5 separate regions of the Homo sapiens genome follow, and all the other regions are linked to region 1. The links are contacts of gene promoters, found by promoter capture Hi-C in blood cells and fetal thymus (Javierre and others, 2016). All regions are on one chromosome and are shown on one strand. Each heading gives the region's core, a stretch centred on a gene start or on the middle of the fragment in contact. The rest is flanking DNA. Distances are from core to core; before and after follow the strand shown. Region 1 holds the start of CYB561D1 (cytochrome b561 family member D1). Region 2 overlaps AKNAD1 (AKNA domain containing 1). Region 3 overlaps STRIP1 (striatin interacting protein 1). Region 4 holds the start of LAMTOR5 (late endosomal/lysosomal adaptor, MAPK and MTOR activator 5). Region 5 overlaps AHCYL1 (adenosylhomocysteinase like 1).

Evidence for each region. The method cuts DNA at HindIII sites, captures the fragments that hold promoters and counts their contacts. A CHiCAGO score of 5 or more calls a contact.
Region 2: a contact is called between a fragment that was not itself captured here and the fragment with the promoter of CYB561D1 in region 1, in 1 of 17 cell types (naive CD4 T cells). The highest score is 6.1, in naive CD4 T cells.
Region 3: a contact is called between a fragment that was not itself captured here and the fragment with the promoter of CYB561D1 in region 1, in 4 of 17 cell types (naive CD4 T cells, neutrophils, monocytes and 1 more). The highest score is 7.9, in naive CD4 T cells.
Region 4: the fragment with the promoter of LAMTOR5 here is called in contact with the fragment with the promoter of CYB561D1 in region 1 in 2 of 17 cell types (fetal thymus and total B cells); the score reaches 6.2 in fetal thymus.
Region 5: a fragment that was not itself captured here is called in contact with the fragment with the promoter of CYB561D1 in region 1 in 13 of 17 cell types (non-activated CD4 T cells, erythroblasts, M1 macrophages and 10 more); the score reaches 7.5 in non-activated CD4 T cells.

Annotation. Positions count from the first base shown.
Region 1 is chr1:109,490,258-109,495,349 of GRCh38, reverse strand. CYB561D1 (cytochrome b561 family member D1) reads right to left here and starts at 1,256. Exons shown (of 3, transcript NM_182580.3): 1 at 1,063-1,256; 2 at 170-207. The coding sequence starts at 1,210. It overlaps ATXN7L2 (ataxin 7 like 2), which reads right to left. Exons shown (of 11, transcript NM_001350175.2): 9 at 4,958-5,079; 10 at 3,633-4,428; 11 at 2,616-2,764. The coding sequence ends at 2,750. RefSeq lists enhancers at 616-1,116, 1,106-1,185 and silencers at 1,256-1,485, 4,444-4,493. The HindIII fragment of the contact is 3,360 bases long and covers 1-1,667 here.
Region 2 is chr1:108,826,502-108,831,464 of GRCh38, reverse strand. AKNAD1 (AKNA domain containing 1) reads left to right here. Exons shown (of 16, transcript NM_152763.5): 10 at 815-906; 11 at 4,163-4,260. The region is part of intron 2 of LOC105378891 (a long non-coding RNA gene); the gene reads right to left. Among named protein-coding and RNA genes, the nearest start is that of AKNAD1, 28 kb to the left of the region's middle. The HindIII fragment of the contact is 371 bases long and covers 1,583-1,953 here.
Region 3 is chr1:110,035,096-110,040,131 of GRCh38, reverse strand. STRIP1 (striatin interacting protein 1) reads right to left here. Exons shown (of 21, transcript NM_033088.4): 2 at 2,172-2,241; 3 at 1,375-1,449; 4 at 826-960; 5 at 617-737. LOC105378895 (a long non-coding RNA gene) reads left to right here and starts at 4,693. Exons shown (of 3, transcript XR_947693.3): 1 at 4,693-4,723. RefSeq lists a silencer at 4,914-4,983. The HindIII fragment of the contact is 5,545 bases long and covers 1-4,305 here.
Region 4 is chr1:110,404,710-110,409,923 of GRCh38, reverse strand. It overlaps LAMTOR5 (late endosomal/lysosomal adaptor, MAPK and MTOR activator 5), which reads left to right and starts at 2,230. Exons shown (of 4, transcript NM_001382293.1): 1 at 2,230-2,338; 2 at 3,545-3,606. The coding sequence starts at 2,304. LAMTOR5-AS1 (LAMTOR5 and SLC16A4 antisense RNA 1) reads right to left here and starts at 2,115. Exons shown (of 3, transcript NR_102697.1): 1 at 1,970-2,115. RefSeq lists an enhancer at 2,059-2,288. The HindIII fragment of the contact is 8,453 bases long and covers 329-5,214 here.
Region 5 is chr1:110,018,833-110,024,306 of GRCh38, reverse strand. It overlaps AHCYL1 (adenosylhomocysteinase like 1), which reads right to left. Exons shown (of 17, transcript NM_006621.7): 14 at 5,188-5,256; 15 at 4,681-4,759; 16 at 3,456-3,576; 17 at 565-2,633. The coding sequence ends at 2,627. Among named protein-coding and RNA genes, the nearest start is that of STRIP1, 13 kb to the left of the region's middle. RefSeq lists an enhancer at 5,090-5,474. The HindIII fragment of the contact is 2,571 bases long and covers 1,088-3,658 here.

The sequences.
Region 1 (5,092 bases), core at 7-2,506:
CCAGCCCTCCAGGTTTCCCAATCCCATAGGCTGCAGGGAAAGATGAGCCCTAGATGTTTCCTCCACCTGTCTTAGCCTTAGAAAGGCTGAGCTTTCTGAAAGCTGGGTGCTTCCCTGGGAGAATGAGGTGAGGAATACCCAAACAAATCAGATAGAAGCCTAAACTCACCGCCAAGGCCATGAATACAGGGTGCCAGGAGAAAAGACCTAAGAATCAAAGAGAACAGGCTGAGGGCTTGGTACCATTGTTCCTGCCCCTGTAGCTAGGTGGAACCCAAAGAATCTAGCCACAGGAGAAAAGTACCATCCCCAATCCTAATCGGGCACAGGAACTAAGGACAAAGTGGAGCAGCCAAGGAGCCCCAGGGTGAGCAACCAAGAGGGCCTCCTTATCCACACACATACAACAGTTTGGCCCGGGTTCCCCGTTCAGCACCTCTCAGCTGGCAGCCCAGTCCTCTGCCCCTTTTTTGTTTTTTGTTTTTTTTGGTTGTTGTTTTTTGTTTTTTTTTTGATACGGAGTCTCGCTCTGTCGCACAGGGTGGAGTGCAGTGGTGCAATCTCGGCTCACTGCAGCCTCCACCTCCCGGGTTCAAGCGATTCTCCTCCCTCAGCCTCCCAAGTAGCTGGAACTACAGGCGCGCGCCATCACGCCTGGCTAATTTTTGTATTCTTAGTAGAGACGGGGTTTCACCATGTTGGCCAGGCTGGTCTCGAACTCCTGACCTCAAGTGATCCACCCGCGTCGGCCTCCCAAAGTGCTGGGATTTCAGGCATGACCCACCGCGCCCGGCCTCCTTCACTTCTATCCTCCATCAGGGGACCTGTTTCTGAGGAAGTAGTTCGGTCTGTTCAATCGTCTGCCCTTCCCCCACAGCACCCAAAACCCCATTATTCCAGGATCCCTGGGGCCCCGCCCCACCAGGCCCTCAAAATCCCTCCACTGTTTCTGTCTCCCCTTTACTGCTGGGGTCCCTCCTCCAAGTCTCCCGGGGCTCCCAAGCGCTGCCCCTCCAGCATCTCCACTCCGCCCCCTTCCGCAACCCCGCCCCGCACACTCACTGGTTCCTGGCCGGGACAGCGCTGTCAGAAAGATGGTGAAGCCCAAAGCTACCAGGTGCGCCAAGATCCCACTGCCTCTCCGCAGCCAGCGGGTCAGTCTCGGCTCCCCAGCTGGAGCGGGAACCAGACCTACCTCCAGGGGCTGCATGGCCGTGGCCCGCGGGCCCGTACACTCCAGCTGCCCGAACACGTCTTCCGGGTTTGCGATCGCGGAGGCGGTGGCGGCTGCAGGAGAGGCTCCTCCCCGGGGACGCCGCCGGCAGTGCGGCGGAGTGGCCCACAGCGCCCTCTGGGGGCTGGGGGGGAAACGCGAGTGCCCCGGAGAGGCCCGCTCCCGCGAGAGCCCGGAGGCAGAAGGGGACCGAACAGTTCCCAGCCCACCTTCATTTGTATCTGTGTGTCTGTCTACAAGGGCCTAAATCCCAAGCAGCCTGTGGAAATTACTTTTGTGGCAAACGATTTCAGTGAAACCCCAAATCACACACTTGGTACGCTGAACCAAGACTGTGAAACAAGTGTTTGGAGCCGATTTCTAGTAGTACTGGATTTCCCTGGCTGTGCACTGTCTCCTGTCACCTCATTTTGTCTTGTTCAGGGAACAAGCTTCCTCCATGCCTAAGAGCAAGGAGAATAGGAAAGGACATCGCCAAAATATAGTGCCTTGAACCTGGTGGACCAAAGGAGGGAAATGCAAGTCTCCTCTCGCATCTGCACGGGAGTGGTCCCCAGCGAGATAAATGGAAAAACTAGGGCACTCCCAGCCCTGCCGCCTCCTCAGCAGCTGCTCAGCCCTGAGGAGCCAGGTGATCCTGAAGGACCAAGGCCTCCCACACTCCTGTGGCCTCCCACACCACCAGTTCTGCAAGTGATGATGCCTTTTCCCTTCCTGCCTCCAAAAAAGGGGTGGTTCAACCCAAGGAGGCCTCCCTGGGAAAGGTTCTACCCCTTCCTTAAAGGCAAACCCACAGGCAGGGAAGGAAGGCTGTCCAATAGAAAACAGGAATATCCCAACAGCAATGACCAACCCAGCTCAAGCTCCCTAAGTGGCTGAGAAAATGAGGCTGCAGGAACAGCTGAAGAAAAGCAGGCAATAATTCAGGGAGGGATGGATGCCTAGGGTTGCTGAAGGACCAGAAAAGGGTCACAAGCCAATTCCCAGACCCTCGGGGCAAGGATCCTAGAAAGAGCCAGAAGTGCAGCTCCCCCTCTCGAGTTTCTCTTCCCAATGGGACCATAGTCGTCTCTGGTGTCAAGACTCAGGAAGCCTTACTCATTCAGAGCCACACGCCTCATCATCCTGTCTGGAAAGACTACCCCAGTGACACAAACATTTTTCACACTATTGAAAATGACAAGATGACAATAATAATAATAATGAGCATAAGAGACTTTTGCAGGCAAGCTATGGGAGCTGGAGTCTGGCTGCCTATCATCTCAGCCTCCCAGGGTAGGGCTGGGGACAGTAAGGACACTCATTTTGTTATTTTTTTTCCTTCCTTTTCTATGTTTCTGTTTTTATATTTTCATAGCAGCAACAGAACAGGGAGACAGTCTTGAGGTATTTTAAAGAGCTTTTTTTCTTAAAAAAAAATAATATAAAGTTATAAAAAGCGGCAGCAGCCTGGGGCCCGGATCTGGAGGGGAGGAGGTGCTGGCGGCTCCGTTGCAGTGGGCAGGCACTTTCTCGTTAATGGGCTTTTGACTGCAGGAAGACAAGAGGCGAGAGAAAGGGTCAGGGTGGGGGCCTACCAGCTGTCCTACCCAGTGAACTGTGTGCACTACAGAGGCTAAAGCTTGATTTCCTTCTGCTGGCCTGGTGAGTAAAACTGAGCAAGGGGGAAGATGAATGCCAGCTCACCAGGGGCAGCCTGGGTAGTGAAGCTGGAGAACACACAGGGTTTATGATTAGGCCCACATCTAACCCAGGAGAGCACCCCCGTCCCACCTCCAGTAAGTCCCTCCTGGCAGAGATCATATGGAGAGCACATAGCACACTACACCAGGGCTCCCACCAGAAGAGGCAAATAAAACTGGCTGCAGGCTTTACTGGAAACCCTGGAGAACTTGCCTGTCACCTGCACACCTGGAGGTGGGCACATGTGCATAAGTGGACATGGGGTTGTGTGCCTGCCCTTCAAGGCCCTGATGCCCAGAGGAAAAACCAGTGAGACCAGCCCACCCACCTTGCTGCTCGGCATGTTAGGCTGTGACCCAGGGACTCAAACTCCCTTTCCTTCAGGGAACAGAGGTAGCTCCAGTACCTGGAATGAGGGTCACAGCCAATTCAGAAAGAAGTAGCCCTTTGATTATAGCAAAAGCAGGGGTGGAGGGGTGCCGCATCTCCTCAGCCCAAGGGAAAGGGTTAGGGATAGGGGAAGGTTCACCAGGCAAAAAGCTGGAGTCACTTTGCTAAGAACTGACCTACCTCTTCCTAAAGAAAACAGTCCAGGAACTCTCTCAACTTCCCCTTCCTCCCTTTCCCTGCACAAACACCAATGTAGCATCTTCTCTGTATCAGGTACCCCCTGTGTGCCCCACCCTCATCAATCTTCAGGGAGCCTGGCTGGTACCTTCAGTGTAGAGCACTTCTCCTCAAAGGCCAGGGCCGGGCCTGGCTTCTTGCGGCGCACAGAGCAGGCCACATCAGCAGGGGCACCAGCCTGACAGTGCTTGGCCTTCACTGGCCGGCAATAAGTGGCCAGGTTTTTCCGCTTCTTGGCCACCTCCTCCTCAGAGAGGCAGTTGGTTGGCAGGGCCTTGGCTGGGTGTCCAGCTGCTCCCCGGTTCTCCAGCTGAGAAGCCTTGACTGGTGTGGGGAGCTGATGAGGGGAGCCACGACAGTCCAGGGGCCCTGCCCGCTTCACTCTTGGCCCCATTGTCCCATTAAGCCCCATGCTCAGGGCTGTTTTAGTTTTGGCCGAGAGGCCCCTACAGCCAGAGGGTTTCCCTTTTCCAGTGGGCTCCAGGATGCAGGTCCGTTTAAGAGTGGTAGGGCCAGGGGATAACTTCCGCTTTCGAGAAGGGGCCTCCACCTCCACCCCGTCCTTGCCTTTGGATGACTTGCTGGCCTTGGAAGGCGGCAGCTTGCTGAAGGACGGGGATGGCGTGTTGGCAGGCAGTGGTGAGGTGATAGCCTGGCTCCCGCCCATGCACTCTGCCTGGCTACAGGCAGCCGCCACGCTGGGGGAGCCTGCAGGGTAGCTGGGGACAAGGTTGTCCTTGGTGGGGGGCATGGAGGCTGGGCAGGCAGGTCTCAGGGTTGGACCTGGAAGGCGGGGGCAGGTGCCTGTAGAGGATGGGCTCAGGGGAGCAGATAACGGGGAGTTGACAAGGTGAGCTGGAGGTTCAGCTGCCGGTGGGATCTTCCTGCAGCAAAAAGAAAGCCCCACTGTGACTGCCAAGAAACAAGACAGCTTCCCCCAACACAAGACACACTCCAGTCTCTCTGCCCCACCTAGAAATGGTCAGCAGAGCCCCAGAGTTGCTGCCATCTGCTGGGAGATGCTGGAACTGAGGGTTAGGAAGAAGACACAGGGGTGCCTGTGGAGAGGAATTAGCTAGTACCTACTAACTAGGAGGCAGCCCACTAGGAACTTCATTTTAAATCTTGGTTTGGGCATCCCCTATCCCTAGTTACCCAAAAGGTACTGGAAGTGATGGATGAAAGTCTAGATTCACCCCCAGACCACCCTTCCATGCCCTGCCTTAGCCAAACTCTAGGCTGCCAAGTTTTCCCACCTCCTTTTCATGCTACTCCCTATCTGGGGTCCTGCTGGCAAATAGCCAAGGCACACCTATGGGTATACAGGAAAGATCAGGGCTTCTGAAGCCCAAGTATGTCTGGAACCTAGGAATTTCCATTCTAGAACTTCCATTCTGGGTCCGAGAGACTTACTTCCACATGTGTGTGCTGAGGTGCCGTTCCAGCATGGAGCTGAGTGCTGAGCAGAACCGGTCCAGCCGGCGGCTAAACACATAGCATCCTGGGCTCACCAGCCGGCTCCCAAAGGTGCAGAACTAAAGGCAGAAG
Region 2 (4,963 bases), core at 519-3,018, 660 kb after region 1:
TGTTGGTGGCTGTGAAATCTGTACAACTTTTGTGGAAAGCAATTTGGCAATATGGGTCATCACACAAACATGTTCGCAACCTTTGGCCCAGACATTTCCTCAGGAAGTAATCCAAGATGTGGAAAAAGCTATGTGTACAATGATGCTTCTGCCATTGTTTATAATGATGGGAAAAGTACATTTATTTTTTACTTACATAAAGGGTAAGACCTTAGTCAAAAATACACAGTGGGTGGTAACAGCCCTCACAGGTCAGTGGAGTAATTGTTTTGTGTTAAAGAGGGACATATAACCAATCATTTAGGCCCCCAGACAGTCCCTAAACCCTGTTTTAATTCATAGTTGAATATATTTATTTAGAAAGGCTTTTAGAGCTCTACTAGCCAGCGGTCAGATTAATAGATCTAAAAATTATGTTCCTAAATCTGTTCATTATCTGGCGAAGCTTGGAGTAATTTGAAACTAAGGGAAAGATAAAAAGGGGAGAGTATTCTGTCATCTGTACACCAGATTTTAAAATCTGTTTAGAGGAGGAAGGAAGCAAGCCAGGGTGGAAACTTCCATTCTTCAGCCCAGGCCATTAGAGGCGCAGCCCCGACTGAGTGACACATCAGAACTAAGGATGGGCTCTTTCTTCTTTCCCTCCTGTCCCCCTGCGCCTCCCTTTCCCCAACTGGAGGAGAGGTTTGGCGAGTCTCTCTGCCTGAGGTGGCAAGTTCAGCCGGACCTCAGCTGCTTGCTGGGCTGTGCGTGTGCAGCCGCGGCGTGAGTCACATCCTCTATCACATCTCCATCTGTGTGCTTTGTGGCGCAGGAGGATCCCAACGGCACTCCAAGAAGGCAGGATTGTGCAGAGATGACGGCACCCAGTCCGAGCTGTGCCTTCTGTCGCAGGCTCCTTGAATGGTGAGGGCTTCTTGTGGCTACATTCCCAGGGTGGATTGGAGTCAGTCCTGGCATAGTAACTCCAGTGAGAGTGGGCGGCAACTAACTGAGGCCACTGGCTGAGTTATAGAGTCACAGATCTCAGGCCTGGGCACAGAGCCCAGCCTCCCTCGCACCCTACAGATCCTCTAGCAGTGGTCCTCAACTGGGGAGACCATCAAAATCACCATGGGAGATTTTACAATCATGCACATGCCTCCATCCCACCTACTGTCTCAGCATCGCCAGCGGTGGGGCTCTGGTAGGAATATTGCTTTTAAATCTCCCCAGGTGATTCCGATAAGCCCCCTTGGTTAAGAATCATGGTTACAGCCCACGGAGGGTGGTCCTGTAGGCTTTTGATCATTGCCCACATGGGGGATTCTTATCCTGTATAACAAACAGCTCCCACCATCCCTACTCTCTCCTTATGATGAGCAAAAGTCTTCTCTGTTGGGTTTCACCTGAGCCCCCCAGTCCCAGGAACAAGCCTCATCCCTCTTCTCAGGGCTGATTTCTTCCCATTCCTAAGGACGAAATCTTCCAGAGCTAACAAGCTGTAAATCATGTAAAATCCTCAGGAGAAATCCTTTGTTTTTGAAACACCCATTGGTGCAACTATTAATCTGTGTCGATTCAGTATCATTTATTTGAAGCTTCTTTCAGGTAGCGAGAGATGTTACCTCTAAGCTCACTGTGGACTCCGGCCAAAGCTCGGCTCATTGACCTTTGGAAGGTCAAGAGTCAGGGAGGCAGCAGGTGTTTAGCAACCACTGTTATATGTACGTAATGGATTCTAATAGAAGCAGATGACAGGGTCTGAAAGACTGAGGCTTCCTGTTAGAAAGCATTCCATTGTGGGAATGGGCACCTGCCTTAAGAGTTCTAATGAGTGTCCACCCCTGAAAAAAGAAACTGCATGAAGCTCGTGCTAAAAATGGTCATGTGTCATTGTGTGTGGGTCATTAAACCACCATGTCAGTCATCAGCTTTGAGCTGCCCTTTAATCCAAGGGGCACTCATGAAGCTTACTCACTGAGTCATCCCAGGCCTACTATTTTTATTTATTGAATTAAAGTCTAATTTTGGATTTTTAAAGGTTTTACTAAGTATAATGAAAGTATTTTGACATTAAAGAACCATTTTTATTAAGCACTCAAGGTACTAAATTTCTCTCTTCTAAATTCCTAGTCTAGACCCTACAGAAGTACATTAAGTACCAAGACAGGGACCAATGTTCCAGACTAAATAATACTTTTTTATGATAGACAAGCTGGAAAGACAAGCACAACCAAGTGTAAAATCAAATCTCACAGTGAATCCACTGCTGGGGAGTGATGAGAAGATACACATGACTTATGAATTAAAATCTTGTAACTTACATAATCCCTGAGGAATTATTGATTGAAGGGAGGACTATATATTCTTTCTGTTAGAAGATTAAATCTCTCTCTGATGGGACTTGTCCTTTATGAAGCTTGCTGAGGTACATACTGTTTTCAGGATATTTGTAAATTGTTTATATATAAGTGGATAAATTACATATGTATAAAATGTAAAATATGCTTATCCCTTTATGTTATTTCTGATGCAAAACTTTGGATTTAAGTGTGTACTTTAGCTGCTTTGTCTTGTTGAAAAACTGTCTTCTCCAGAGGAATTATGTTTGGCCAGAAGATTTGAGTACACAAAGGAGTTTAAAAGCAGAAAAAGTCCTGTGTTGGACTGCATGCACTTGAGTGAGATCCAAGTTTCCCACTTTGGAGAGCAGATGTTCAAATGCCCCAGAGGAGAAGGGTGGAGACAGAAAATGAGGTGTGAGAAAATATGTGACTCAAGAGGACAGCATGTTTTTCCAAGAGGAGGGAAAGAGCCTGGCTTCTCAGCCCCAGCCCCACAAACCCGCAGCCCCATCCCTTCTCCGCCAACAGCAGGCCAGGGCACAGCGCGGCGAGCATGTGTTTGCCCAGCAATGCCTTGGGCTCAAACCCTAGCCCTGGGCAATCTGCCTCATTTATGCCAGGATATCTCGGGCACAGTGCCTTCCATACTAAGAATGAACAACTTTCCCTGGGGGCTATGACTGTATCCCAGGAGCTTAGCAAGAGCTTTGTTCAGAACTGTTATTAATTCGAATTCCTTTGGAGGAGTTGGGATTTCTGAGGAGGAGGGAGGAAGCTGCAGGTGGGCCACAGGAAGGCTCCTGAACAATGTCCATTGCAGTTGCTTCTTTCTGACGCCACCTGGTGGCCATGTGCAACTAAAATCACCTTCACGTGCTCCCTCAGCCTTTAGTCCCACAGACACCCGGCAAAGCCCACTTTGCTGGAGTTGTTGGATGTAATCAGCTTGTACTTCCAGGACCAAAGCTACGTGACCCATTACTGACGTATAGCATAGTTTCTTCCCCTGGTAGGAACTGTTTGTTTGTTTGTTTGTTTGTTTGTTTGTTTTTGAGATGAGGTTTTGCCATGTTGCCCTGGCTGACCTTGAACTCCTAGTCTCAAGCCATCCACCCTCCTTGGCCTCCCAAAGTGCTGGGATTACAGGCATGAGCCACCATACCCAGCCTGGAATGGATTTTGATGCATGAGGAAAACTCCAAATTTTATAATTCCATACTTCAAATGTGTTTTGTGAATGTGTATGTGATGATTAGATATTAACCTCGGCAGAACAAAACATTTATTTTTCATGTCTTGTATACATTTTCTTTTTTTTTTTTTTGAGTAGGAGTCTCGCTCTGTCACCCAGGCTGGAGTGCAGTGGCGCGATCTCGGCTCACTGCAAGCTCCGCCTCCCGGGTTCCCGCCATTCTCCTGCCTCAGCCTCCCGAGTAGCTGGGACTACAGGCACCCACTACGGCGCCCAGCTAATTTTTTGTACTTTTAGTAGAGACAGGGTTTCACCGTGTTAGCCAGGATGGTCTCGATCTCCTGACCTCGTGATCCGCCCGCCTCAGCCTCCCAAAGTGCTGGGATTACAGGCGTGAGCCACCGCGCCTGGCCTGTCTTGTATACATTTTCTTATCAGGCCAAATTGTGCTGGGGTGCAATTTCTTGTAGAAAAGCTCTCAAACAGGCAGGCAGAGGAGAGCTCTGTGTAGAGGATGACAAGCCCCTCCTACACTGTTCCAGGCTCTAATATAACAAAATTTAACGTTTCAACTTTACCAAAACTTTCCCTATCTATTGGAAATGCACTAAAAGTTTACAGGATCTTATGCACCTTTTTTTAGGAAGCAAAACGTGGAGAAAAAGGGCCACGGAAGGATCAACTGTGGAAGATTTTCAATTGTCCTTCATGAAAAGGCACCACACTCAGATTCAACTCCCAGTAAGTTGATGGGCTTGGGCTGGGTGCTCATTTTTCAGTGTCCCTCCCCATGGGGTCTGCTCGCAGTAGGCACCAGCTTGCCATCTGCCACTCCAAGAGCATTTCCCTACACTAGGATGTTGCATGTTGTATTTATTTATTTGCAAAATGTAAAGAATTAATAGGCTGGGCATGGGGGCTCATGCCTGTAATTCCAGCACTTTGGGAGGCTGAGGCGGGTGGATCACTTGAGCTCAGGAGTTCAAGACCAGCCTGGCCAACATGGTGACATTCCATCTGTACAAAAAAAATACAAAAATTAGCCAGGTGTGGTGGCTCACGCCTGTAGTCCCAGCTACTTGGGAGACTAAGGTGGGAAGATTGCTTGAGTCCGGGAGGTTGAGGCTGCAGTGAGCCATGATCATGCCACCGTACTCCAGCCTGGGCGACAGAGTAGGACCCTGTTTCAAAAAAAAAAAAAAAGAAAAAGAAAAGAAAAGAAAAAAAGAATCACTTTCAATAAGATGTGGTTAAGTAGAGTAAAGCATGAACACCTGTTTCTAGCTGAAAATGAAGGACTCCATGGACTCAATCACAAGATGTCATTCAGTCTGTCCATCCTCATCCTTCCCACATGACCCATAACTGTACCTGGTAAGGTTACTGGCTACGTGAGAATTGCTGCTGCTTTGGATATATGCATTTCATAGAAGCAAAGAAAGTT
Region 3 (5,036 bases), core at 284-2,783, 540 kb before region 1:
CACGGTTTGAATCCTGGCTCTAACTGCGCCTTAGTTTCCTCATCTGTAAAATGGGGATGACAGTAGTACCTATATCCTTAACATGAATTAGCACATGTAATATTCTGAGAACAATGCCCGGGACACACAGGCACTCAATGAGCTGTCTTAGCTTTATCATTGATGGTGTTATCCTTAGATGAGCAGCAGCTGACCTGTCCACTGGACAAAGGTGACACAGGCAAGGCCAGGCACTGGTTGAGCCCATATGTCAGTCTTGTGCCTGGCCTCCTGCCAAGGCGGAAACTGCAGGGCGAACACAGCAGTGTCTGCAGGTTCAAAAGAGAGCTCAAAGTGAAGAGTCTCCTTCTGAGGAGCACCCCAGGCCTGGGCAGGGCCTGCACTGTCTGGTGTAAAAACTCTGGCATCAGGGAGCTGCAGGGACCTGTCATTAGTCTCCATTAATCTTCAAGGTGTAAGTGACCAACTCCGTTATTCAACCCAGGTGGTCAGAACACAGCCTGGGACCAGAACTTCTGCCCCATTTAACCCTCTCAAAGCCAGTTAGTTCTGCAAGCTCTGTCCCCCTTCCCATCCCAGCCTCCCCTTCCCTACTCAGCCTCTCAAAAATGCTCACTCTATTTCCATGTTCAGAAGCTCCACCAAAGCATTGAACGTGCCCACCTCCAGGAGGAGAAAGATGTTGTAGCGCATCCAGGACTGCACCTCTGCCTCCGAGCTGCACTCCCCAAACGTGCCTGCAATGCAGGGTTCAACTCACTGAGCCCCTCCCTGCATCTGAGTGGGCAGAGGTGCCAGGGAACCCTGGGGAGGTCCACTCAATACCTTGAGCAACATAGAGAATTGCTCGAGCCACCTTGAGTCTCTTCTCCCTGGCAGTGACTTCCAAGCCATCCAGGAGCCTCATGGCATGGGTCCGGTGCTGGTTGGTATCCAGCTCAGTCCACTTCTTGTCTGTCACTGCAGGGCAAGAAACCAGTTACACCTGAGCCTAGAAAAATCCTCACAATGGCATGGACCCATGTTAACTCACCAAATTCAGGACTGCCATAGGACCAGAAAGATAAGTTACACCCTATGTAAGTGGTAAGATCATACTGCTGCTCTATGAATTTGATTCCAAACTGAAACGCTGGTATTTTGGGTGCAATTTTAATCACATGATTTTTTTTTCTCCCCTAATATGCACATTCTGAAAAGCCCCCACCGATGTGCCACAAGCCCACTCTACATGTATCTGGCTTTGAACCATCAGGGTTCAGCAGGCTTCTCAGGCTGTTCCAGGATGACTCAGGTCATTCAGATGCCTAAAAGAAACCTGCAGCTCTCGTTATGCAGGGCAAAGGAAGCAAGAAGTGTGGGAAATCATCTCACCATGGATCCGGAAGTCCTCCTCAAAGCATTTTCGATTCATCAGGAATTCTGGCCCTTCCGTGTAGCTGTAAAGCTCTGTCAGAACAAAGTCTCGTCACCATTGGTTCCATGTCTGCATTGCACACCAGGTCTCACAAGTGCAGAGAAGGCAAGGCATTTGCTTCCACTCTCAACTCTGCCCCTGAGTCATAGTGACTCCTGGAATAAGCTCTCTAATTATGAAGGGGATCTTAGTGCTCTGATGTGCACAATAGAGACAACCAGAGTGCCAGAATGCCATCTGGACACTTCCAGTCCGATGTGCATCCATCCCACCATGCCATGCCAGGGCTGACGGCCACCTGGGATGCATCTCTCAAATGGCTGCTACCTCTTGAGCAGGATGTGTATTGTAGAGGCTGGAGAAGCAGCTCACACCGACCTCGCATTACATGAGAGTGGCAGTGGCAGCAGCAGATGGGCACAGATGCAGGCATCCCTCATGACCCATTGCTGGAGGAGAGACCACTGTCAGGGTCACAGTGGATAGCCAAGGAACATCACTGTCTCACAATGGGACTGGGCTCTAGCCAGCTTCATAAAAGTAAAGGACAACACAAAGTTATAAGATACACAAGGCTTGAATCAAATAACATGTTTTATACATATATATATATATATATATATATATATATATATATATATATTTGATAGAACTAGGGAAAGCAATGAAGCCCTAAATGATATTCATTATTAATTTTATTAAAGACCAATAAGGAAAAAACCACCCCCAAATAACACAAAGGTCTGTGCGTTACCCGAGAGCTCTGCAGCCCACTTGTCTGTGTCAGCATACTCAAACTCCAGGTCTGGTGACTCCGAATAGCCCTGCTGACAAGAGGAGAGAGCTTTAGGAAAAAGGATCATTCTATTTATCAAAGAAACTCATGCTTCGAGATGCTGTTGTGTTACAGGACACCACTGCCTCCACTTTTTTATGTTTTTTCACATTTTGTTTCCTAAAACCTCTCAGAGTATCCTATACTTTTCCTTCAGAGCATTTATCATAACTTATCATTATAGGATGTGTTTACTGTCTGCCTTTCCACAAGACTGTAAGTTCCCTGAGAACAAGAACATCATCCATTTAACTTACCAATGATTTCACAAGGTCCAGCATGGTACCTGGCATGAATAAGTGAATGAATGAATGGTCTATACACACATATTTGTTAAATGAATAAATACAAGGTTTCTATGTATTTTGTGCAGTAAATGACCATTCCATATGATGCTATGATTCCAGAAGTCTTAACTTCTTTCTGGCTAGTGGACTGTCAACAGCTCAGGACAAAAATGAGTATTGAAACCCTCAGCTTTCCCACCTTTGTCTCAAATTTCAGTGAGAACTGACAAAGAAGGCAGCCGCCAAACAGATCAACTTCCCTCCCACACATAAGAGAAAATGTGACAAAGACAATCTTTTTCCTGCTGGAAATAGGTGATTACTGAGAACACACCATCTTGGAAGCCTTGTACTGGGAAGAGAGAAGTGAGAAACAAATAGGTAAAGTCCTTAGGTTTAATTACAGTCTACCTGGGAAGACAAAGACCAGCCACAAAATGACACAACATACCCACAATGGCCAGGCGAGGTGGCTCATGCCTATAATCCCAGCACTTTGGGAGGCCGAGGTGGGCGGGTCATTTGAGGTCAGGACTTTGAAACCAGCCTGGCCAACATGGTAAAACCCCGTCTCTAATAAAAATATAAAATTTTTTAAAAATATATTTTTACATGGTGGGGCGTGCCTGTAGTCCCAGCTACTCGGGAGGCTAAGGCAGGAGAATCGCTTGAGCCCCGGAAGTGGAGGTTGCAGTGAGCCAAGATCGCGCCACTACACTCCAGCTTGGGAGACAGACAGAGACTCTGTCTCAAAACAAAACAAAACAAAACAAAAAACATACCCACAAACAAGAACTCCACGTTGTGTTCAGAGATAACACAGTGTACACTTTCACAAGTTACTGAGCTTCGGTTTCTTCATTCATTGAATGGCAATGATGAAAATCTACTTTGAAGATTTTTAAGGACTAATCAAAATTATGTAGTACATAGTGGGCTCTCATCAAATGTGAGCCTCCCTGTCCTCCAGGCATTCACTGATCAGGCTCCCAAACTACCGATTTCAGCTATGACTAAAGAAAGATCATGGCATCAGACTCTCTATAAAGAAATGGATTTAGACAGGTCTCTGCTTAAATGTGTCCATTTGACTGGTCTTTCATGTAATGAGTCTATGAGGAAATTTTTTTTTTTGAGACGGGGAGAGTTTCGCTCTTGTCACCCAGGCTGGAGTGCAATGGTGCAATCTCGGCTCACTGCAAATCTCCACCTCCCAGGTTCAAGCAATTCTCCTGTCTCAGGCTCCTGAGTAGCTGGGATTACAGGCACCAGCCACCACGCCCGGCTAATTTTTGTATTTTTAGTAGAGACAGGGTTTGATCACATTGGCCAGGCTGGACAGGAACTCCTGACCTCAGGTGATCCGCCCGCCTCGGCCTCCCCAAGTGCTGGGATTACAGGCGTGAGCCACTGCACCCGGCCTCTATGTGGAAATTAAAGGGTACAAAGAGAAATTACAATTCGTCAGAGGGTATCTATTTGACCATTCGTAGCTACTCTGGAAAATTTTAAACCATTTTTCAAAATGATAACTCCTCTCATGATGAAGGTAGGTTCACCCCCCTGCACTTTCGTAATCTTCCACTTGAAAAACTGAGTAGTTAACACTGATGTCCGTCATCCCACCATGCCAGGGCTCCTAAATGGTCAGTGTTTTTGTTTTTTTCAAATAATTCACTCCAAGCTCAAATTACGTCTACTTCGGGCTTGCCAATTGTTGACATGTTTTCTCAGGGGTTTAGCCTTGCTAACAAAAAATAAAAGCTTCTGAGGAACTGATTCCACAGGTCTAAAGGTAGTATCATTGCTCTTTGGTATGAATTGGTACATTATGCTTGGACAACTAGGAATTCCCTCTCATTAACTTGGCTGATCAGTTTGGCTGCTGATCAATCTAGGAGATGGCATAGTAAGTGCTCTGGGAACCTGCTCATTAAGAAGCCCTAAAACTCCGCGACATGAGTATCTTCATTCATGAATTCTGCAAAAGGAGGCAGTGGGAGGAATTCCTTAACTTGGGGTGAGGTTACTAGTCAGTTCCAGACTATGCCATCTCCAGAACGGCAGGAACGGCTCACTAGCGAGACAGGAAGGAATGTTGGGTCCTAACGCATGCTTAAAATGTCTATTTCTCATCTTTAACAGTTCAGTATCAGGCGCACTGGGCACAATAGCCCACCACAGGTACTGTTAACCCATGGCCTGATCTGGCTCAGGTCAGAAGAACAGGACATGTTTCCCCCTCCTACTCTACTCTCAATGATAATTAGCTCGGTCCGGCTCTAAGTTCCTTCCAGATCCTCGCCGGCGCCTTCCCTGCCCACACGCGCCTTCCTCTGCGAGCGGCAGGACCCAGGAGCTGGAGCCCGCGTGCCAGGGACAGACGCCCGAGATGATTAGGTTGGGGGCGCGGCAGCCCAGCGCCCTGGAGTGCACCAAGACCCCCGACTCCTCACCCCCGAGCTGGGGCGAGAGCGGCTTCCCCAGGGGCTAGGGC
Region 4 (5,214 bases), core at 981-3,480, 910 kb before region 1:
CTGGGTGCAATGGCTCATGCCTATAATCCCAGCACTTTGGGAGGCTGAGGTGGGCGGATCGCTTGAGGTCAGGAGTTTGAGACCAGCCTGGCCAACATGGTGAAACCCCATCTCTACTAAAAGCACAAAAATTAGCCACGTGTGGTGGTGCATGCCTGTAATCCCAGCTACTCGGGAGGCTGAGGCAGAAGAATCGCTTGAACCAGGAGGCAGAGGTTGCAGTGAGCTGAGACGGCGCCACTGCACTCCAGCCTGGGCGATAGAGCAAGACTCTGTCTCAAAAAAATAAAGAAATAAACAAACTGGAATTTCAAGGAAGCTGCAAGCTTCACTATGACAGCTGCGGAATAAAAAGGGACTCTGAATGCCAGTGCAGTGTATTGGACTTTGGTTCAATACCAAAGTCTGGTATCTTCCGATCTGGGAGCTGGGCCCCAGATTGGAAGGTAGGCTGTGAGTAAAAAGCTGGAGGTGACAGAGTTGGAAGAAACTTAGTGCAAGGAATGATCCACAGAGGGGGTGAGGCTTACCAATTTGAGTAAATTAGCACCACTTTTTCGGGAGGCAATTTGTAAGTATGTATCAAGAGTCTTAAAAAATGATCATGTCCTTTAACCCAGTCATTCCATTTCTAGTAACTTATAAGGAAATTTTAAAACTGCACAGATATTTAGCTATGAGGATATTCAACCAGCATTGTAATAGCTAAAACAAAAAACAAACAAAAGCAAAAAAAAAAAAAAAAGTCCAAGTACAGTGGCTCACCTGCAATCTCAGCGCTTTGGGAAGCCAACGAGGGAGGGTCACTTGAGACTGGGCTACACACTGAGACTCCATCTCTACAATTTTTTTTTTAATTAGCTAGGTGGGGTGGCGGGTCCCTGTAGTCCCAGCTTCTTGGGAGGCTGAGGTGGGAAGATCGCTTGAACCTAGAAGGCTGAGGCTGGACTAAGCCATGATAGTGCCACTGCACTCCAACCTTAATCCACAATTAAGATACAGCTATAAAATGGAATATTTTGCAACTACTACAAAGGATGTAAGTGAAAACTTGACATGGAAAGACATTTATTCTAAACTCTGTAAAGAAGGCCAGCTACAGAATTGTACCTCCAGTATGTATGTCAATTTTGCTTACAAAACAAACAAAACAAAAAAAACCATGCTAGGCGTGGTGACTCAGCCTGTAATCACATTTTGGGAGGCTGGAGTGGGAGGATCTGTTGAAGCAAGGAGTTTAAGACCAGCCTGGACAACACAGCGAGACCCCCATCTCTACAAAAAAACGTAAAAATTAGCCAGACATGATGGCTCGAGGCTGTGGTCCTAGCCAGTCGAGAGGCTGAGAGGTGAGGATAGCTTGAACCCAGGACGTCCGGGTTGCAATGAGCTATAATCGTTCTACTGCACTACAGCCTGGGTAACAGAGCAAGACCCTGTCCCCCAAAAAATTTATTTTAAAAAGGCAAACGAAAAAACATTAAAAGTATACATTTACAAAGACAACTATCTGAAAGGATATTCTCCAAGAAGTTAAAAGTCGTCTTTGGACAGTGGGGCCATAGATGTTTTCCTATTTTTACCAGCTTTATAATTAATTTTTAAAAGTTATTTTCAAGTAGTCCTACCCAGTCTTCCTTACGAGTTAGGACTCAAATGCCACTCTCTTCCCCTAAACTGTCCTGAGTCCCCTCACCATAATAAGCACCAATGTCTTCGTTAAAATCCCGACACTGCCAACACTCAGCTAGGGGGTTGAACCTTGCTCCATCTCGTCCTTTAGTCTCTGTGTGCGTCTTTCCCCCTACAAGCCTACTGACCCCCTCCAAGAGGTCCCGTGTCTTCCCCGTACTTGCCCCACAGGCTAGATCAGACCCTGTCTGACCCCTGGGTTATTGTAAAACTTAAGATCTGTCCCCTAGGTCTCGGAGTCGGTTGAACTAGGGTCCAAAGGTTAAAAAACACTGACACAAAATGCCAGGCCACGAACTGAAGCACTGAGGCCCGGCTGCAGACCTCTCCCGAGAGGGGAATAATCCGTGCCGGCCGGTTCCGCCATGGAGCCAGGTGCAGGTCACCTCGACGGTCACCGCGCGGGGAGCCCAAGCCTTCGTCAGGCTCTGTGCGACGGAAGCGCAGTGATGTTTTCCAGTAAAGAACGCGGACGTTGCACCGTGATCAATTTTGTCCCTTTGGAGGCGCCGTTACGGTCCACGCCCCGCTCGCGTCAAGTGACTGAGGCCTGTGGTGGAGAAGGACGTGCCGTGCCGCTGGGTTCTGAGCCGGAGTGGTCGGTGGGTGGGATGGAGGCGACCTTGGAGCAGCACTTGGAAGACACGTGAGTAGTGCGCGCCTCTTCGGCCTGTCCTGAGGTCGCGGCGGAGGAACTTGAGCGGAACGAAAGGCGCGAGCTGCGAGTACCGGCCAGGGCGTCTCGGGGACGTCGCGCGACCCCCGGGACACGGGATGAGGGGGCTAAACTCTACCCAAGGCCGCAGGGCGGGGCGGGTGACCCGGAATTAAAATCCTGCCGGGCACCGCACATTCCCTCTTGAGCGAGTCTCCCGGGCCCAGGCCACGGGCCAAAACTGCCTATCTCGTTGTTGAAATCGTCTTTACGGTCAGGGTGGTTCTGCGGAAGTTTTAGAAAACGGGTTGACTTTTGGGAAGATTGTGCCAGTTGTGCAGTGTCGAGCCCTGCAGTGTAAACAAACACGTATCTCCTGTGTGTAACCTATCAGTTACTTGGTGCTTAAGTAGATAAAAATCATTCTTTAAATTTTTCGAACAAGCAGTATCTATGTAAAATTCAAAACTGGAAAAGTGTAAAGGGTACAGAGAGACACCTGCCTCCCACCGATGTCCCTCAGCTTCCACTTACCCTCCAGGAGGTAACTTGAGTTTTTCAACAGTTGTTTTAAATGAGTTAGTACTAAAACATGCGTTTTTAACAAGAGTGAAAACATCCTAGATGTTTTTCACGCAGTGTTTGTGGCCCTCCAGAACTCAGCAGTACTTAGCACATTTTTTTCTCTCATCAGAGAGAAACTGGTTTATTTCAATTAATTAACTAGAACTTAAATTTTTTGTGTTCTTTTTTTGAGACGGAATTTCGCTCGTCTTCCAGGCTGGAGTGCAATGGCGTGATCTCGGCTCACTGCAACCTCCGCCTCCCAGGTTCAAGCGATTCTCTTGCCTCAGCCTCCCGAGTAGCTGGGATTACAGTCATGCGCCACCACGCCTGGCTAATTTTGTATTTTTAGTAGAGACGGGGTTTCTCCATGTTGGTCAGGCTGGTCTTGAACTCCCGACCTCAGGTGATCCGCCCACCTGGGCCTCCCAAAGTGCTGGGATTACAGGCGTGAGCAACCGCGCCCGGCCCTAGAACTTAATTTTTTTCTTAGGGTGTGACAATGAAAAAAGATTGAGAAATATTGATTTAAAGCACTTAATGCCTGGTACATAGAACACCTGTATGTTTGTACTTATTTAAATCCTTTTTCTCCCATTATGTACTTCAACTCTCTTGTGTTCCTGGAATTAGAATGAAGAATCCCTCCATTGTTGGAGTCCTGTGCACAGATTCACAAGGACTTAATCTGGGTTGTAAGTATCTCTCATACCAACTATTTGATGAATTGCATAGCATCTGATGTTGACTTGGAGCCTAGCGTGCTATTATTTTCTAGCTTTTATTTCCTGTTACCTTGCCAGGTCTTTCTGAGTTTGAGAGTAGAGATTATCTCCAAATAACAGTATCAGAAAATTGAAACTTTTCAGTTGGTATTTATGAAGGAAGATGTTCCTTGCAGTCCTATAACAATAAATAGTTGTCTCTACTAAAAATAATATTTGAATCATTTTAAATTGAGTCTAGAAAGGACTTCAGATAATAACAGCTGTTAACCATTTATTGAATGTATGCCATATGCTGAGACTGCTAGGCTCTAAATACATTATCTTTAATTTTCACAACAACCCGGCAAGGTGGGTGGTGTACAATTTTGAAGCTCAACTACACTAAACAAGAAGTGAATAGGCAGTAAAATGGGATTTCAGTGTTGGACATACCTGGTCTCAATCCCTTGCTCTTTCATTTGTTAGTAGTGTGAACGTGGACCAAAAAACTACCTTTTAGGCCCTCATTTTCTTCACTGGGTTGTTATTTGATAATGGTAATAATCATAGAATTATATTTATTGAGCTGTTATGTGCCAAGCACCATTGTAAGTGCTTTACATATACTCTTTTATTCCTCATAACAACCCAGTGAGGTAGAAAAAGAAATTGAGGGACCAGGTGCAGTGTCTCACGCCTGTAATCCCAGCACTTTGGGAGACCAAGGTGGGCAGATCACTTGAGCCCAGGAGTTCAAGACCAGCCTGTGCAACACAGTGAGACCCCCCATCTCTATTTTTACAATAAACATATATATATGTTTTTAAAATTTAAAAAAAGAGGCCGGATGCGGTGGCTCACACCTGTGATCCCAGCACTTTGGGAGGCGGAGGCGGGTGGATCACCTGAGGTCAGGAGTTCGAGACTAGCCTGGCCAACATGGTGAAACCACATCTCTACTAAAAATGCAAAAAAAAATTAGCCAGGCATGGTAGCAGGTGCTAGTAATCCCAGCTACTCGGGAGGCTGAGGCAGGAGAATCGCTTGAACCTGGGAGGCAGAGGTTGCAGTAAGCCGAGATTGCACCATTGCACTCCAGCCTGGATGACAAGAGCGAGACTCTGTCTCAAAAAATAAAAAAAGAAACTGAGACACAGAGGTTAAATAACTTGCCTGAGGTCATGCAGCTAGTAAGTCGTTAAGCTAGGATTTTTGTCTGGCCCTGAGGCCTCTTAATCACTTTTTTTTTTTTTTTTTTGAGACGAAATCTTGCTCTGTCGCCCAGGCTAGAGTGCAGTGGCACGATCTTGGCTCACTGCAACCTCCATTTCCCAGGTTCAGGCAATTCTCCTGCCTCAGCCTCCTGAGTAGCTGGGATTACAGGCGCCTGCCACCACGCCCAGATAATTTTTGTATTTTTAGTAGATACAGGGTTTCACTATGTTGGCCAGGCTGGTCTCGAACTCCTTATCTCAGGTGATCCACCCACCTCCGCCTCCCAAAGTGCGGGATTACAGGAATGAGCCACTACACCCGGCCTAATCACGATATTTTAAGGTTATATAATATGTATAAAATGCTTACATAGAACTGAGA
Region 5 (5,474 bases), core at 1,124-3,623, 530 kb before region 1:
TGGCGAAACCCCATCTCTACCAAAAATACAAACAATTAGCTGACACTGTGGTCCCAGCTACTTGGGAGGTTGAGGTGGGAGGATCACTTGAGCCCGGAAGGCAGAAGTTGCAGTGAGCTGAGATCAAGCCACTGCACTCCAACCTGGGTGACAGTGAGACCTTGTCTCAAAAAAATAAAGAGAAAAAAAAAAAAAAAAGACACTGAGACCACTTCAGAAATGGATACAGGTGTGGGAGGAGGCTGAAGCTTACATAACTTTGGGGGCATTCTTCAGAAATTAGGTCTTAGAAGGACTATGCAAATGAGGAACCCTGAGGCTTAAGCAGCAAGTCTGCTTCCTGAAGGAAGTTAGGAGTGAAAGTACCCAGGCCCGGTGCTTGGCACAGAGCAGGCATACAAAACTTCAGGTATTACTTTGAAGAATCCTGTATCCAGCCTCTATATATTAGGCCCTCAACAAATCTCTATTAAATGCTACTGACCTATAACTTGTCACACCCTAGAAAACAGGTTCTAATGAAGTTTTGCTGTTTAACAAAGAATGACACATACGGACTGCCAATAAGGTCTTATCATTTTAATCGATTTTAATGATTATTGCTCATCTGCAAGGATTAATATTGCATTCATTAAAAATCATTCAATACAAAATGAACTTGTTCTTCCCAAGTTGCTCTCCACATGCTCCCTCTGATGCCAGACTTTTTTTTTTTTTTAACAGTGTCCTTTGTTACATGGCTTGACAGAGACAGAGCCCTTACCTATTATTCCTATGGACACGGTAATAGATATGGGATCAAGGGGCAGGTCAGAGGGCAGGTGAATGTGGGTCCCTTCCCTCCAGCAGGGCTAACGTGATGGATACACTGTTGGCCAGGTTACCTCCCCTAACAGATGTGGTGTTCTGATTGGTTGGTTAAGTGCCCGAGGAAAATAGGCCTTAACTGTTAACATCTACAGAGAAGAAAGCATGGTCACACTGGCAAGGAGTAAGAAGGGATTGGGTAAAAGAAAATGGGAGAGAAAAGGGAAAAAAGTTTTGGCAAGACAATTGTTCCCTGCTAAGAAGCTGCAGGGTGAAAGCTTTCCTTTCTTCTATTTTTGTTTTTAATGTCTGTCTCTCTGATCAGTGGAAAAGTGAAAATTTCTAGTATCTAGCACTAACGTATGACCCAACTTTGAGGGATCACAAGCTAGAACAAGTTGAGGATTTAAAATCCTGGATAATTATATACTTAAAGCTCATGAGCATAAAGCTCACTTGACCATGCAGAAATGCTGGGAAGCAGGGTGCATGGCATGGGAATACATCTCCCTGATCTTTGAGAGAGCCTCTCTGGATATTCTTTCAGAGCATGAGCCAGGATGTACTGACTACTTTCTTCACACATCAGTTGCCCTTTATGATCTCAGTTCATAAACTCTTTGTGGTATGTAGCAATCAAAAGTCATATTACTTCTGTAAAACTAACATTATATAGGGTGTATAGTCCCAGACAAATTATATGAAGCTAGATTTTTCTTGCCCTGGCCCAATTTATCATTCCTCCTCCTGCCCACACCTACCTCCCTTTAAATATTTTAGGTTGCAGAAGCACAGCTGACCAGAAATTTGCTCTTAAAGATAAATCCTAAAGATAGAACTCAGTGCTTTATACTGAGTAATGGCTCAAGAAATTCGCCTTCAGCACAAGCTGTATGGTACACAGCTGATAGAATTTGCTGTTGTGGCTCCAGTTCACTGATGCTATGAACTACGGGCTAGAAACAGAGGGACTTAACAGGGCTTGAGACTAGCATTTCTCTAGACTCAGCATCCTTAGCTCCAAAGGTTCAAAAGAGAAATTGGTAACAACTAACCACTCAAGCAATTCCTCAGCATTAACACCAAAAATTCTCCTTAATTTTTCTTTTCTTTTTTTTTTTTTTTGGACAACAGAAATAAATCCTAGAGGACAAAATTAAACTCAATAGAGTGTAGTCTAGTTAAAAACTCGAAAAATGAGCAAGTCTGGTGGGAGTGGAGGAAGGGCTATACTATAAATCCAAGTGGGCCTCCTGATCTTAACAAGCCATGCTCATTATACACATCTCTGAACTGGACATACCACCTTTACGCAGGAAACAGGGCTTGGAACTTCTAAGGGAAATTAACATGCACCACCCACATCTAACCTACCTGCCGGGTAGGTACCATCCCTGCTTCTCTGAAGAAGTGAAAGAGCACTGATTTCAGCAGCTAAGAAATGGGCTCTTTTAAGGCGATTTAGACATTGCAGATTGTTCCACAGAGAAGGTACCTTAGCATTTCCTGTTAATAAGGTACCTAATTAAGACTAAAGTCCCCAGAAATGGTAAAGAAAGAATCACCTTTCTGGGCTGGGAGAGTAAAATCCTTCTTTAGTGACTAGAGTGAGGAACCCTGAACTTCTATTTCATCTAAAGAGCCATGAAGCAAGTTCCTGTGTGGTCTGCAGAACTTGGATAATGAGATGAAAAAACAAGAATGAAATTATAGGAAAAAAATCAAGAGGAAAGGAGTAAGAAGAAAATAAAAGTTATCTTAAAAAATATTTCTTTAGAGTGTGTGGTTCAGGTGGACTGGTCCTTGGTAGTATGGTCCATTAGTATCTGTAAAGAGAGAGAGTGATTGGTTAACACTTATGTCTTCCATATGAGAATTCCAAAAAACAATCGGAAACAGAGCACCTTCTCCAGGGCCCCTCCCCAGCCTGGGTGGGATCCCTGCAGTCATTCCCCAGGGCACCAGTCTCCCTTATTCTTCCACAGGGTCTCTGACAATGCCATTTCTGGTGTTACCGCCTGTTCCCAGGAATGAGTCAGTGTTTTTTCAACCCTGACTAAACATTACAATAATCTGGGGAGGTTTTACAAAATAATGTTTTGTAAATTTGGTCCCATCGCAGACCAAATATATCAGAATCTCTTAGGGTGAGGCCCAGGCTCCAAAATTTCAAAAAAACCCTAACTCCCTGATATCTCCCACAATTTCTCTATCTACCTTGTTAACTGGAACAGTTTTTTTGTTTGTTTGTTTGTTTTTAAGACAGAGTCTCACTCCATCACCCAGGCTGGAGTGCAGTGGCATGATCCCAGCTCACTGCAACCTCCGCCTCCCAGGTTCAAGTGATTCTCGTGCCTCAGCCACCTGAGTAACTGGGATGACAGGTGCCCGCCACCACACCCGGCTAAGAGATAGGGTTTCGCCATGTTGGCCAGGCTGGTCTTGAACTCCTGACCTCAAGTGATCCATCCGCCTAGGCCTCTCAAAGTGCTGGGATTACAGGCGTGAGCCACCGTGCCTGGCCTGGAACAGATTTCTTGTATTCTTCAAAATCAGGTACAACATTTGATCTTTATGTCAGAAGCAGGCTAGCCTGCTTGGTTTAATACTGGGAAAAAGAGCTTTTCACTTGCTTCTCCCCAGGTTACCTGTAATAATTAGGTTTGAATGGCCCATTTTTGTTGAGTCCCAGATATTTTGCTTGGTCATCTGTCAGCTCTGTAAGGTGGGCATCAAATGATGGCAGATGCAAGCTGGCAACGTATTCATCTAGGAAGAGCAAAGTGGCAGGAGAGCAGACTCCTTTTCAAAATGTCTCTCAAGTTATAACTTCCCATTTTCATTTGAAGCTTTTTTAAGAAAGCAGACAAGGGATGGAATAACTCTGAAAGAATCCACAACTTGAAATATTTGCTTAATTAAAAAAAAAACCTCAAAGCTGCCTTTCTGGGCAGGATGCTTCTCTCAGCACATGTACAGTGCGTTCAGAAAAGCCACTTACCAGGGTAACAAAAGGGAGTGGGCTTTTACCTCTCTATCCTTCTCTGGCAAAGCAGGGGGCTTCCCTGCAGTGGCCCACATGTCACATGCTACTCCTACCTTCCTGCAGCAACCTCCTTAACTAGATTATAGTCAAATTAGCAATCAAAGTGGACACCAGTAAGCTAGAAAGACCCTGTGTCAATAACACTCATTTAGGATAAGATCCATGGATCTTAGGATCATGAATTTCTAAGGTAGTCGGCACAGAATTTTTACTTTTCCATAGATAAGCTTCCCTTTTATAATTATACACTGAAAAAAAAGTCTGAAGTAAGCTATTGGAGGAGAGGAGAGCAAGAAGTATTTTAGCATTAAGAAGTCAGGGATTTGGGCTAGCCAAGGAGATATGGGAGATGGGTACACCGTGCAGAAAGGCAAAGGACTAGAGATGATGTATTATGTCACATGAACACAGCATGGGTTGCTTACAAGAGATTGGATGGTTTGCATATCCTCACAGAAAATGGACAATAAAACCTGTGTTTGTTTCTCTCATTTTGTTCCAAGGCTGTATGTACTCAGCTGCACTGGGAAGTTTACTGAACTTCATAAGGCTACTTAGAGTAAGAACATCTCCCTAAACCATTGTGTTAAGCACTGTTACTCATTAGCTGTGATTCTCACACAATTCTACAATGTATGTAGTATTATTTTCATTTTACCAATCAAGAAACTGAGGATCATAGAGATTAGAACTTGTCCTGAGGTCAAACAACCAGTAAGCACAGGAACAGGAATTGGAACTCTGACTCTAAATCCAATGCCTTTCATGGCAGTCATTTTACCAAACTATGCAGCTGTCTGCATAGATTTCCACTGTTTTTCACTCACCCATTTTCTTAGGAAGCAAGTACACATCCTGCTTGTATCGCCCCTCGGGTGCATTATAGAGTTCTATCAGTGCCAAAGCCTAAGGTGGGAAAAGAAGGCCAGAAAGCACAAAAATATTTCTTAGACAGGCACATAAAAATAAAACCAGGTTAAACAGCATTTGGGTAAGTACTACAGTGATCTACCACAGTCACAGTACCTAGGACTTTGCCTATACTAAAGGGCAGCACACATCCTAAGAGGATTTGTTGTTTTTGTTTAGTTCCTAACGAAAGAACAAATCAAATAAAACTAAGCTGGAACATTATATTCTCAACTAAAACAGCCAATTCAACGAATACTGACTTAGTGACTCTTTTCTATACTTAAGAATACCTGTTTCCACAATTTATTACATCAAAAAAGAATAGGATGATGAGAACATAGTACAGTACACCCTCACTGGAACTGATCTACGCCCAGTTCCACAAATTGCAGTGCAGTGTAAGCAGGCATTTTGCCACATACCTGTGTTGTGGCTGTGATGGACAGAACAAAGGTGGGAACTGTGGAGCAGCTCAAATTGAGTAGACGACCCTGGAAAGGTAAGAGAGAGCCCTGGGATGAGCTCTGTCTCAGATTCCAATGGCATACAAGTCAAGCCAAAGCGGGAGAGGACTTTACACCCCTCTAGACTCAGTTGGAAGAGGAAGAATTACAGTTCCAGATCAGGACTCTAGGCTTTTTCCTATTTTCTGCAAATCCATCTGAGTCTGAAAGGTTAAAGAATCAGCTGTGGTTAGGAAATAGTGTTA